2 separate regions of the Homo sapiens genome follow, and region 2 is linked to region 1. The links are contacts of gene promoters, found by promoter capture Hi-C in human tissues and cell types (Jung and others, 2019). All regions are on one chromosome and are shown on one strand. Each heading gives the region's core, a stretch centred on a gene start or on the middle of the fragment in contact. The rest is flanking DNA. Distances are from core to core; before and after follow the strand shown. Region 1 holds the start of TP53I3 (tumor protein p53 inducible protein 3). Region 2 overlaps ITSN2 (intersectin 2).

Region 1 (5,560 bases), core at 1,122-3,621:
TGCTATTGTAGGAACCCAGGACAAAGACCAAAAATATATATTTCTTATTACACACTGCAAGATTACATCGACCAAGGGCTCACTAAGATAAAATCTTAGGCACTTTCAACTACTAGTTTTACTGGGATACTTTAGTATACTTAGTGGTTGGTATTATTAGATTTTTTTTAAAGTTACTCCTTGCATCTTAAAAGTTCTTATTTAGCACTTACATTACACATTCCTCATCTATCTTAATCCATTCCATTTTCTTAATCCAATCAGTTTTAGTGTCGATTTTTGCAAAGTTTGTTATTTACAACTATTTCCTTTCCATCTGTCTCTGTTCTAGGATATTTATTTGGTTCAAACCTTTCCTCGATTTTGGACAGATGTGTATCCGGATGATGTGTCTCTGAATCCTTATACATCCTCAGACATGTTTTTTGCCCTAACAAGTGAATTATATCTTAATGGGGTATATTGAGTTACAGTGCTTTTCTTCTAGTCAATAGACGCTAGTCTACTCTCTTCTAGCTTCCAGATTGCAGATAGAAACTTGCTGGGCACAGTGGCTCATACTTGTAATCCTAGCACTTTGGGAGGCTGAGGCAGGAGGATTGCTTGAGTCCAGGAGTTTGAGACCAGCCTGGGCAACATAATGAGACCCCTACACTACAAAAAAGAGAGAGAGAGAAAGAGGGGGTGGGGAAGGAGGGAAGGAAGGAAGGAGGGAGGGAGGGAGAGAAGGAAGCCATTTTTTTTAACCAATTGTGAGTAACTTATTCTTTCCACACTTGTTAGAACCTGAAATTTTATAAAATATAGGCATGCATTTTTGTTCTTATGAATCCATCCTTTAGTGAATGTTTTCAATCCGTATAATCTGGTAGAATTTAGGAAAACTGTATTCTTTTATTTGGTTAACTATTGAATCTTCTTCATCCATTCCTCTTCCTCCTTCTAAAATTCCTTTTTTTTTTTTTTTTTTGAGACGGAGTCTCACTCTGTCGTCCAGGCTGGAGTGCAGTGGTGCGATCTCGGCTCACTGCAAGCTCCCCCTCCCGGGTTCACGCCATTCTCCTGCCTCAGCCTCCCGAATAGCTGGGACTACAGGCGCCCGCCACCACGCCCGGCTAATTTTTTGTATTTTTAGTAGAGACGGGGTTTCACCGTGTTAGCCAGGATGGTCTCGATCTCCTGACCTCGTGATCCGCCCGCCTTGGCCTCCCAAAGTTCTGGGATTACAGGCGTGAGCCACCGCGCCCGGCCTAAAATTCCTGTTATTCTCATAGCAGGGTCTCCTGAATTTTTCCTTAAGTCCCATCATTTTATTATTTCCATCTCTATAGGCTTTTGCTCTGTTGTGTTAAAGAAATAATTATTCAATGATACTTGTTAAAGCACATTAAGGAAGACTTTATTTAGCACCATCGCTACAGGTTTAGGGACCACTGCAATGAGTTCTTGCAGTGGAGGAGACAGGTTGGGATCAACTCTGAATGCATCACGGACAAGTGGGAATGTATAGCCAAGGAGCAGTGTAGGGGGTCAGTGGATGGAAAATTGGTAAGAGGCATCAGGGGTAAGGGGGATTCTATCTAAACTGACCTAACAGGATTCTCACTGAAGACAGGCCAGGGTGGTCGGATATCACTTGGGGGATGGTGGAGGATGAGATATTGAGGGTGATCAGATGTCAAGGATGGGAGGTTCTTACTAAAACAGGAATTTACAAGGAGTGCTACGGATATGTAGTGGGGGGAGGCCAGGGATGCTGCTAAACATCCTACGATGCACAGGACGATCTCCTACAATAACGAACTAGCTAGTCCAAAATGTCAATAGCGCCGAGATTGAGAAACCTTCATGTAGCTTACGGATACAGCTTTTACCCAATCGCCAGCATCCTTCTCCTGGGGCTGAACCTCTCCCCCAGGACTGTCAGGAGGAGGCGAGTGATAAGGATCCCAGGACTGCGTTTTGCCTTCCTTCCCCACCCCCACTCCCAACGGCTCCTTTCTCTTCTCTTAGCAGCACCCAGCTTGCCCACCCATGCTCAAGATGGGCGGGATGCCAGCCTGTTACATAAATGTGCCAAAAGCCTGGCCATGCCTGGAAAATGGACCAATCCGCCCGCCAAGAGGTTGGGTCTCGTTCCCTAGAGAGAAGGAAGTTTCCTCTCCTTGAAGTGAGAGCTAGAATCGCACTTTCTGTCAAGCTGAGAGAAAGACTCTTTTCCAGAGGCTAAAAGGACAAGAAAATCTGATTTGCTTGCTTCTAACTTTGCGTTTTAAAGGGGGAAGGAGGAAAGGAAAGAGGGGGAGGGTGGTTCTGCTTAGCCCCACCCCTCCGGCTACCCCAGGTCCAGCCGTCCATTCCGGTGGAGGCAGAGGCAGTCCTGGGGCTCTGGGGCTCGGGCTTTGTCACCGGGACCCGCAGGAGCCAGAACCACTCGGCGCCGCCTGGTGCATGGGAGGGGAGCCGGGCCAGGAGTAAGTAACTCATACGGGCGCCGGGGACCCGGGTCGGGCTGGGGGCTTCCAACTCAGAGGGAGTGTGATTTGCCTGATCCTCTTCGGCGTTGTCCTGCTCTGCCGCATCCAGCCCTGTACCGCCATCCCACTTCCCGCCGTTCCCATCTGTGTTCCGGGTGGGATCGGTCTGGAGGCGGCCGAGGACTTCCCAGGCAGGAGCTCGGGGCGGAGGCCGGGTCCGCGGCAGACCAGGGCAGCGAGGCGCTGGCCGGCAGGGGGCGCTGCGGTGCCAGCCTGAGGCTGGGCTGCTCCGCGAGGATACAGCGGCCCCTGCCCTGTCCTGTCCTGCCCTGCCCTGTCCTGTCCTGCCCTGCCCTGCCCTGTCCTGTCCTGCCCTGCCCTGCCCTGTGTCCTCAGACAATATGTTAGCCGTGCACTTTGACAAGCCGGGAGGACCGGAAAACCTCTACGTGAAGGAGGTGGCCAAGCCGAGCCCGGGGGAGGGTGAAGTCCTCCTGAAGGTGGCGGCCAGCGCCCTGAACCGGGCGGACTTAATGCAGGTACCCAGGGCTCAGCCGCGCCGGGGCGGGCGGGACTCCAGAGCCTCCCTCTCAACAGCACTCAGTGGACATTGACCAGACGTGAAGGCGTGCACCGCTCCACACCCAGCAGGCAGCTGCGCTGGGGCTTCCCAGACCTAAACCCAGGGCGCCCTCTTTGTTCATGCAAAACAAGGGGGAGTACTTGTAAAGCAGAATCCACCCCGAGCTAATCCATAGCCACTCAGGCCTCCAGATGAGGGCGGAACTAACATTGTTGTGGGGTGTGGGCACACTTACTCCCCAGGCTACCCTGTTCGCCATCTTAATTCTACAGATAAGGAAACTGAAGTTCAGTGAGGTTAAGCAGTACGCCCAAGGCCGTGACACTAGCAATCAGAAGAGCTGGGATTCAAGCTGAGGTCTTTGTGGCTCCAAAGACCTCTTAACTCTTTCCACTCTGAGAGTCCCGGAGCTGACAGCGGGCAGTACTCTTAAGAATTTTCTTCTGTCTGATGCTGATTTACTGACCTGGGCCAGCTGCATTGGTTGGGGTCATTCAGAAATGTGCATCAGAATCCCCCGGGGCACAAAAGAAACGTGATGGGGGCCCAGGCACGTGTACTTTGAAATACTCCTCAGGTGGTTCTGCCACACACTCCTGGTTAAGTCCCTCTGCTCTACAGCTTCTGAGGACTGGGGTGAGTGAGCACAGAGCCTAGCGCTTGATGCATGGGAACCATCGTCAAGGTTCCTAATCCCACTACTATTATTTCCCGTCTGGGACTCAGTTTCTCCATCTGTAAAGCAAGGGGTTCAGATGAGGTAAATAGCTAAGGACTCTACCAGTTATAACATCCACTGATCATGTGACCTCCAGTTTATTTGCATAAAACTAATGGCCTCTCCTTTTTCTTCTCCTTACTTACAAAAACCTGACTTCATTCTGAAATTTATTTTTGAAAAAAAAAAGAGGGGATCTTGGAAGGGGGGCCAGGGGTAGTGACATACAGATTTCTGATCATGCTCACCACTTAGTGCACTTCTTTCTCTGCAGAGACAAGGCCAGTATGACCCACCTCCAGGAGCCAGCAACATTTTGGGACTTGAGGCATCTGGACATGTGGCAGAGCTGGGGCCTGGCTGCCAGGGACACTGGAAGATCGGGGACACAGCCATGGCTCTGCTCCCCGGTGGGGGCCAGGCTCAGTACGTCACTGTCCCCGAAGGGCTCCTCATGCCTATCCCAGAGGGATTGACCCTGACCCAGGCTGCAGCCATCCCAGAGGCCTGGCTCACCGCCTTCCAGCTGTTACATCTTGTGGGTGAGGAGGCCTCCATGCTCACTCCACACAATGTGGCTCAACACCTTCATAAATCAGCCAACTTGAATCCCAGCAATCCCCCAGGGCACTCCCAGGCCTTCCTGTATCACCTGTATTGTCAGGTCCTCAAACCATGTTAGAAGGGTTTAATGTTGAGGCTGAGAATCATGGTTAGCAGATAGAGGGTCTGGATAACACTAGATAGGAGGCCTATGTACATGTTAACACCGGACGCCCAGCAGAAGTCCCAGCTTCTTAGAATCATACTGAGCTTCTCTCTGGGGTCCCAGTGCAACAGAAGGGACCAATTGACTCATTTATTCCTCCTCAATCCCACAGAGGCCAGTCAAGAACTCACATAAGGGAATCTAAGAAGACTTGGTCCTTGCCTTTAGACAGTGCAGTGTAACTGAGAAGGCAACATATGCATAAGATCAGATGACCATAGAGTTTAGAAGGATAGCCCTGTCTATGATAGAAGCTGGAGATGAGTAAAGATGGTGTGGACAAGGGTAGTCAGAAGGCTTTTTGGAAGGCTTTGAAGGGTGGGTAGACTTGTGAAGGACATAAGGCATGCCAAGGTGGCCTAAGAAAGAGTATCAGCCAGGCAAGGTGGCTCACACCTATAATCGTAGCACTTTGGAAGACAGATCACGAGCCCAGGAGTTCAAGATCAGCCTGGGCAACATGGCGAAACCCTGTTTCTACAAAAAATACAAAAATTAACCAGGCATGATGGTGCATGCCTGTTGTCTCAGTTACTCAGGAGGCTGAGTTGGGAGGATCACCTGAGCCCAGGAAGGTCAAGGCTGCAGTGAGCCATGATCATGCCACTGCACTCCAGCCTGGGCAGTAGAGTGAGACTCTGTCTCAAAGAAAAAGAAAGAGTAGGCTGGGCGTGGTGGCTCACGCCTGTAATCCCAGCACTTTGGGCGGCTGAGGTGGGTGGATCATGAGGTCAGGAGATCGAGACCATCCTGGCTAACACGGTGAAACTTCATCTCTACTAAAAATACAAAAAATTAGCTGGGCGTGGTGGTGGGCACCTGTAGTCCCAGCTACTCAGGAAGCTGAGGCAAGAGAATGGCATGAACGCAGGGGGGGTGGGGCAGAGCTTGCAGTGAGCCAAGATTGCGCCACTGCACTCCAGCCTGGGTGACAGAGTGAGACTCCGTCTCAAAAAAAAAAAAAAAACAGTATCAAGGTGAGACCAGCCACTGCACTCAGTAGTGAAGGATGA
Region 2 (5,560 bases), core at 954-3,453, 180 kb before region 1:
GTCCATTTCCACAATACTTTTAGTAGTATTGTATCTCTTTTAGATACATGAACCCTTTGAATCATTATTAATGATACAGTTTGTTGAAATTTTATAAGTTAAAACATTCTAAAGATGAACAAAGTAAACAATTTTATTCTTATCAAATTCAGTATATTTGTGTACTCTTCCACTGTTTTCCTTTTAGAACCATTCTGATAGATGTATAGATTTTTCTTCAGCCATCCCTGTTAACTTGCTATTCTTATCTTTTGAGACCCCCCTTTTTGTCCTTTACTTCCCTGTTATATTCAGACCTCCACAGATCAAACCAAGCCTCTCTTTGCTTGGTCTCCTTCCACTTTGTACAGCTCAGCCTGGCCCCCACTCCTGCACTTTCCTTTCTACCCATGTGTGTGCTTCATCCCGCAAGTCATCTCTTTGTTTTGCTGCCTCCTACCTTACTTAAGATGAGCATCCTTGTTTGCTTTTTTATTAGATGACTAGTCAAGATACTGAAATCCTAGCAAGTCTGTATCAAGTGGATTTTCATTGTAGTATTTGGTGCTTGATTTTTTCTTTTAGGTTTTAGAGCTCTTTATTGAGTCATAGCAAAGATGTATACATGTAAGTTGCAAATAATGACAATTGTCTTCTCTTTAGGTGAGACAGCTAGTGTTTTGGTGAATTATAGAGCATTATACCCCTTTGAAGCAAGGAACCATGATGAGATGAGTTTTAATTCTGGAGATATAATTCAGGTAGGAAATGAATTTTTTTTTTAATCATGAATAACCTAAATACATTGTAATATATTAGTTTCTGTAGTAATGTTGACCATTAATTTCATATATTTACCTTTGTAAAATGTTTCTTAAACATTACCTCATTTGGACTTTACAACATACTTCAGAGCTGCATAGGACAGTTATTATTACTAACTAAGTTCTAGCCAAGGAAGCTTAAACTCACACAAGTTGTAACTGTCAGCATTGCAGTGCCAGAATGGGATGCAGTTATGTGTTTTTTTATTTCCAAATCCAGCGTTGTTTCTGCTATGCCATACAGCAACTGTTAAAAGAATTGAAGGAGTTAGATTCCACAGCCCTAACTGGATACAGGCAATTTGTTCCTTGGAACGAAAGTCTTTATTGTGTTATCACAATCCATATAAAATACATGAATAAGAGAAGATCCCAGGAGTAGTGTTTGATAGAGCCAGTAGGACATAATGGAAAGAGTACAGGCTTTAGAAGCACACAAACTTGGATTTTAGTCTCTGCTTCTGTTTTCTTCTTGTTAAACTAATGTTAACCAGAGTATCTAGCCAGAGTATCTAGCCAGTGCCTCTTTCCCCCGCTCCCCCTGCACTGTCACCAGTTAGTGTGATTTATCAGTTAGGTGGCAAATGTTTAATGATACTAGGGAAAAAAATTTACCAAAACGCTAGCACCCAAGATAAACCCTAAACACACATTCCTGCTCTTGCCATTGCCGCTATTAGTAGTACCGGAGCTGTGCCCGAGCAGGGGGAGAGGTTTGTTCTACAACCAGCCCAAGTCCACTGTCTGCTCTTCCTACCATTCCTCCTCTCCTTGTTGGTGATGGTGTCTGGATGAAGAGATACAACCAATCTCTGGGCGTGTTTGGTCAAGAGTTTACTTATATTTTTGGTTATATTTTTTATTTATTTCAACAAATATTTTTTGAGGGCTGACTATGTTAGACTAGGGATTTAGTGAATAAGACATTATCTCTGCTCTTAACACGCTTGTAGGCTAATGAAAAAGCGTGACAACCTAAAGCAGTAGAGGAAGGAAGGTAAGGAAAAGGTTGTAGACTGCTACCAGCTTTAGCACAGACCTCTCCCATGGTCAGAGAGCCATTCTGGTGGCAGTGACAACAGAAACATAAAGTTAGCTGTGTGTCTTGGGTGCTTGTGTACTCTGCTGAATCATTAACATGAAGTATTAGTCATGAGTTACTACTGTCAGTCATGAGTTGCCTGATTTGAACAAATTGGTTAATGATGGTGTCATTTCCTAAGAGGGAAAATCAGAGGGGGAATATATAAGTAGAATTATGAGTTCAGTTTTGTATGAGTTTCAGATGTCCAGGCAGTAGTAGTTGGATCTCCAGAGTACCTAGAGAGATGTCAGGCAGCGGTCTGGGCTGAGGATGTAAATCTGGATGTCGCCAGTGTGATGTGATGGTGTTGGAAGACATGAGAGTAATGGAGCTCATCCAGGGGAGTAGTAACGTGAGAGAGAAGAGGATTGAGGATGCAGTTCCTGAGAAACATGGACACTGAAGGAATTATTAGAGGAAGTGGAGCCTTAAAAGGAGTGACTAGTAGTAGGAAAAAAAAAAAAACAGGAGAGTTTAATGTTAGGGAACTTTGAGAAGAGTGATCTGCAAGTGAAATAAAACAAGGACTAAAAAAATTATTAGATTAGCAATAGCACAGGTGTTGTTAACTTGAGGACAGCAGTATCAGTTAAGTGGACTAGTAGAGCGAGAAGCCAGATTTCAGTGAGTTGGAATAAATTGGAAGAGAGGAAGAGGAGACAGTGAATATATAAAACTCTTTGAATGAGCTTGGCTTTGAAAGGGAGAAGGAGAGAAGGTAGTAAATAATGAGAAATGTGGGTTGAGGGAAGTTTTTTTTTTTTTTAAAGTTGGCTGAAGCTTGAGCAAGTTTAAATAATAGTAGAAAGGATCTGCAGAGAGGAAACAGGTTAATGATAATGGAAAGAGTATAAATAACTGATAAAGATTGTTTTTTCTTATTAAAGTATAATTTATATATAGCAAAGTGTACAACCATAAGTATACAGCTCAAAGAATGTGTACACATCTGTGTATCTGTGAAGCCCCCCTCAGATCAGTGTGTAGAACGTACAGCATCAGGAAGGCACTTCATGTTCCTTGTCAAACCTCCCTGTTCTGACTAATAGATGGAGATGAGGAAGATTCTTGAAAAGGCTAGAAGGCTGGAATCTGGAGCCCTGGAAGAGAGTGGTAGAAGGATTGAATACCTTATCCTTTGTCATTAGAGGGCAGGAAGAAAGGGTGGGAGGGATTAAAGTAAATTTTGCTGAAGTAGAAGATGAAGTCAGGTCCCAGGACTTCCAAATTCCCGGTAAGATAGGAGGCAAGGTCTGATCAACTTAATGGATGAGGGTGTTACCGGAGGTTTCATTGAAAGTGAAAAGGATTAGAAATTCCACTGAGTCTTGGCCACATTTTCGATGACAAGCTGAAATGTTTTTCTAGCCTTCTAATCTGTTAATGCTATTTTGCTAACATTAATTAATAAGTAGTTAAGAAGAAGTAATAAGTAGTTTTGCTAGGCCTGTGAGAATTTATATAAAATGTTCAGTTTAACTCAGTATGTAAATTAACAACTAAAAATTAATTACAACTATAAATGACAGATGTGAAAGAGATTAAAATTGACCTCTTACTAAAACAACTTGGCCTAACTACAGAATAAATGAACGAGATTTTTCTTCTTGATTAGGTTGAAAACACTAGGAAAAAGTGTATCTAGAAATTAATACTTTTAAAAGCTTTTGGCCAGGTGCAGGTGCACACCCATAATCCCAGCACTTTGAGAGGCCGAGGCAGGAGTATCACGTAGGTACTGGCGTTAGAGACCAGCCTGGGCAACATAGGAAGACCCTGTTTCTACAAAAAGTAAAAAAAAATTAGCGGGGCTTGGTGGTGTGCACCTGTAGTCCCACCTGCTGTGGAGACTGAGGTGGCAGAATCACTTGAGCCCAGGAGGTCAAGGCTACAGTGAGCTGTGATTGCACCACTGCACTCTAGTAGCCTGGGTGACAGAGTAAGACCCTGTCTGAAAAGTCAGCCAGCCAGCCAAGTCCGTCAGTGAAGGGAGGTAGAAAGGAAAGTAGGAAGGGCATGTAAGTAAATGTGGTAAATGTGTGTGTGTGTATGTATGTATGTACATATGTGTACCTATATATAGCCAATACTCATAGCTTACGGTGATTCCTTTCCTTAAGACCATACTTTTTTTTTTTTTTTATACTTTAAGTTCTGGGATACATGTGCAGAACGTGCAGGTTTGTTACATAGGTATACATGTGCCATGGTGGTTTGCTGCACCCATCAACCTGTCATCTACGTTAGGTATTTCTCCTAATGCTTTCCTCCCCTAGTCCCCCACCCCCTGACAGGTCCCGCTGTGTGATGTTCCCCTCCCTGTGTCCATGTGTTCTCATTGTTCAACTCCCACTTGTGAGTGAGAACATGTGGTGTTTGGTTTTCTGTTTCTGTGTTAGTTTGCTGGGAATGATGGTTTTCAGCGTCATCCATGTCCAAGACAATACATTTAAATCAGGTACAATGCTGAGCATTTTGCAGCATTGAAATACTTTGGTTTGTGTAATTCCTCAGGGTTTATTGTATTCTTGTCTGAATTTATATTGCTCTGGCTTAGCTATTTTATTTTATTTATTTATTTATTTTTGAAACTGGGTCTCAATCTGTTACCCAGGCTGGAGTGCAGTGGCGGGATCATGGCTCACTACAGCCTCGACCACCCGAGCTCACGCCATCCTCCCACCTCAACCTCTTGAGTAGTGGAGACTACAGGCACACACCACCACACCTGGCTATTTTTTTTTTTTTTTTTTTTTGTGGAGATGGAGTTTCTCACTATGTTGCCTACGCTTGTCTCAAACTCCTGGCCTCAAGCAACCCTCTTACCTTGGCTTCCCAAAGTGCTGTGATTACAGGCATGAACCACCGTGCCTGGCAGACTTAACTATTTTAAACTAGTCTTAAACTAGATTTACAGGATAATATTTCATAAGTGTTTGCTTTCATTCTAACTATTTTAGAACACCATTTTATGGGAGCTACATTACTGTGACATCATACAGTTTAGCCATAGCAGCTCTGGTTTAGGAGTTTTCTAAATATTTCATTCATGATGTAATAAATAGCCAGACATATAACATTAAAATGAGAATTATTTACCATAAACATAAATGAAGTTGCCCTAATAATCCATTTATTACTAATTAAGCTTTAAGTCTATTGTTAATCAAATTTAGAATAATCCATTCAAGTTAACATTTGTTGAGTTTGTAACCATGTGCCTCTGGTGACATACAAAAATGAATAAGGAGACCACAGTCTAGGAAAAAAAAGAAATGTGTATTACTGTACAAAATATAACATGATAAATTTCAATACTAATTTATATGAGTAAGTACTGTGGGAACCCAGAGAATGAAGGAAAAACAACCAAATAGAATTGGGGAACATTTTTCCCAAGGATAGGATGGAGGAAGGCCTTGAAGGATTATGCCTTATATTTGCTTAGTGCTTTACAGTTTCCAAAGCGCCTTCATAAATATACTCAATTTAATTCTGAAAGATACCCTAGAGGAGGGCAGCACAGGTATTTCCCCCCAAATTTGTAGATGACAAAGCACACAAGATAGCATTCATTATCTTAACGAAGGATAACCAGGTAGCATGGCTAAGACTGAAATGTGGTTCTTTTAACTCTCAAGTCTGTAGTATTTCCTCTAAACCATGTAATATT

Evidence for each region. Contacts are between HindIII fragments. The study calls those that stand out against the background at their distance.
Region 2: a contact is called between a fragment that was not itself captured here and the fragment with the promoter of TP53I3 in region 1, in 1 of the 25 tissues and cell types used here (mesendoderm cells).

Annotation. Positions count from the first base shown.
Region 1 is chr2:24,081,645-24,087,204 of GRCh38, reverse strand. It overlaps TP53I3 (tumor protein p53 inducible protein 3), which reads left to right and starts at 2,371. Exons shown (of 5, transcript NM_004881.5): 1 at 2,371-3,016; 2 at 4,053-4,320. The coding sequence starts at 2,879. It also overlaps a transcript of FAM228B not described here. RefSeq lists enhancers at 1,586-2,086, 2,834-2,883, 3,034-3,133, 3,729-4,659 and a silencer at 2,644-2,823. The HindIII fragment of the contact is 16,390 bases long and covers 1-5,560 here.
Region 2 is chr2:24,265,851-24,271,410 of GRCh38, reverse strand. It overlaps ITSN2 (intersectin 2), which reads left to right. Exons shown (of 40, transcript NM_006277.3): 20 at 643-740. Among named protein-coding and RNA genes, the nearest start is that of ITSN2, 92 kb to the left of the region's middle. The HindIII fragment of the contact is 4,180 bases long and covers 114-4,293 here.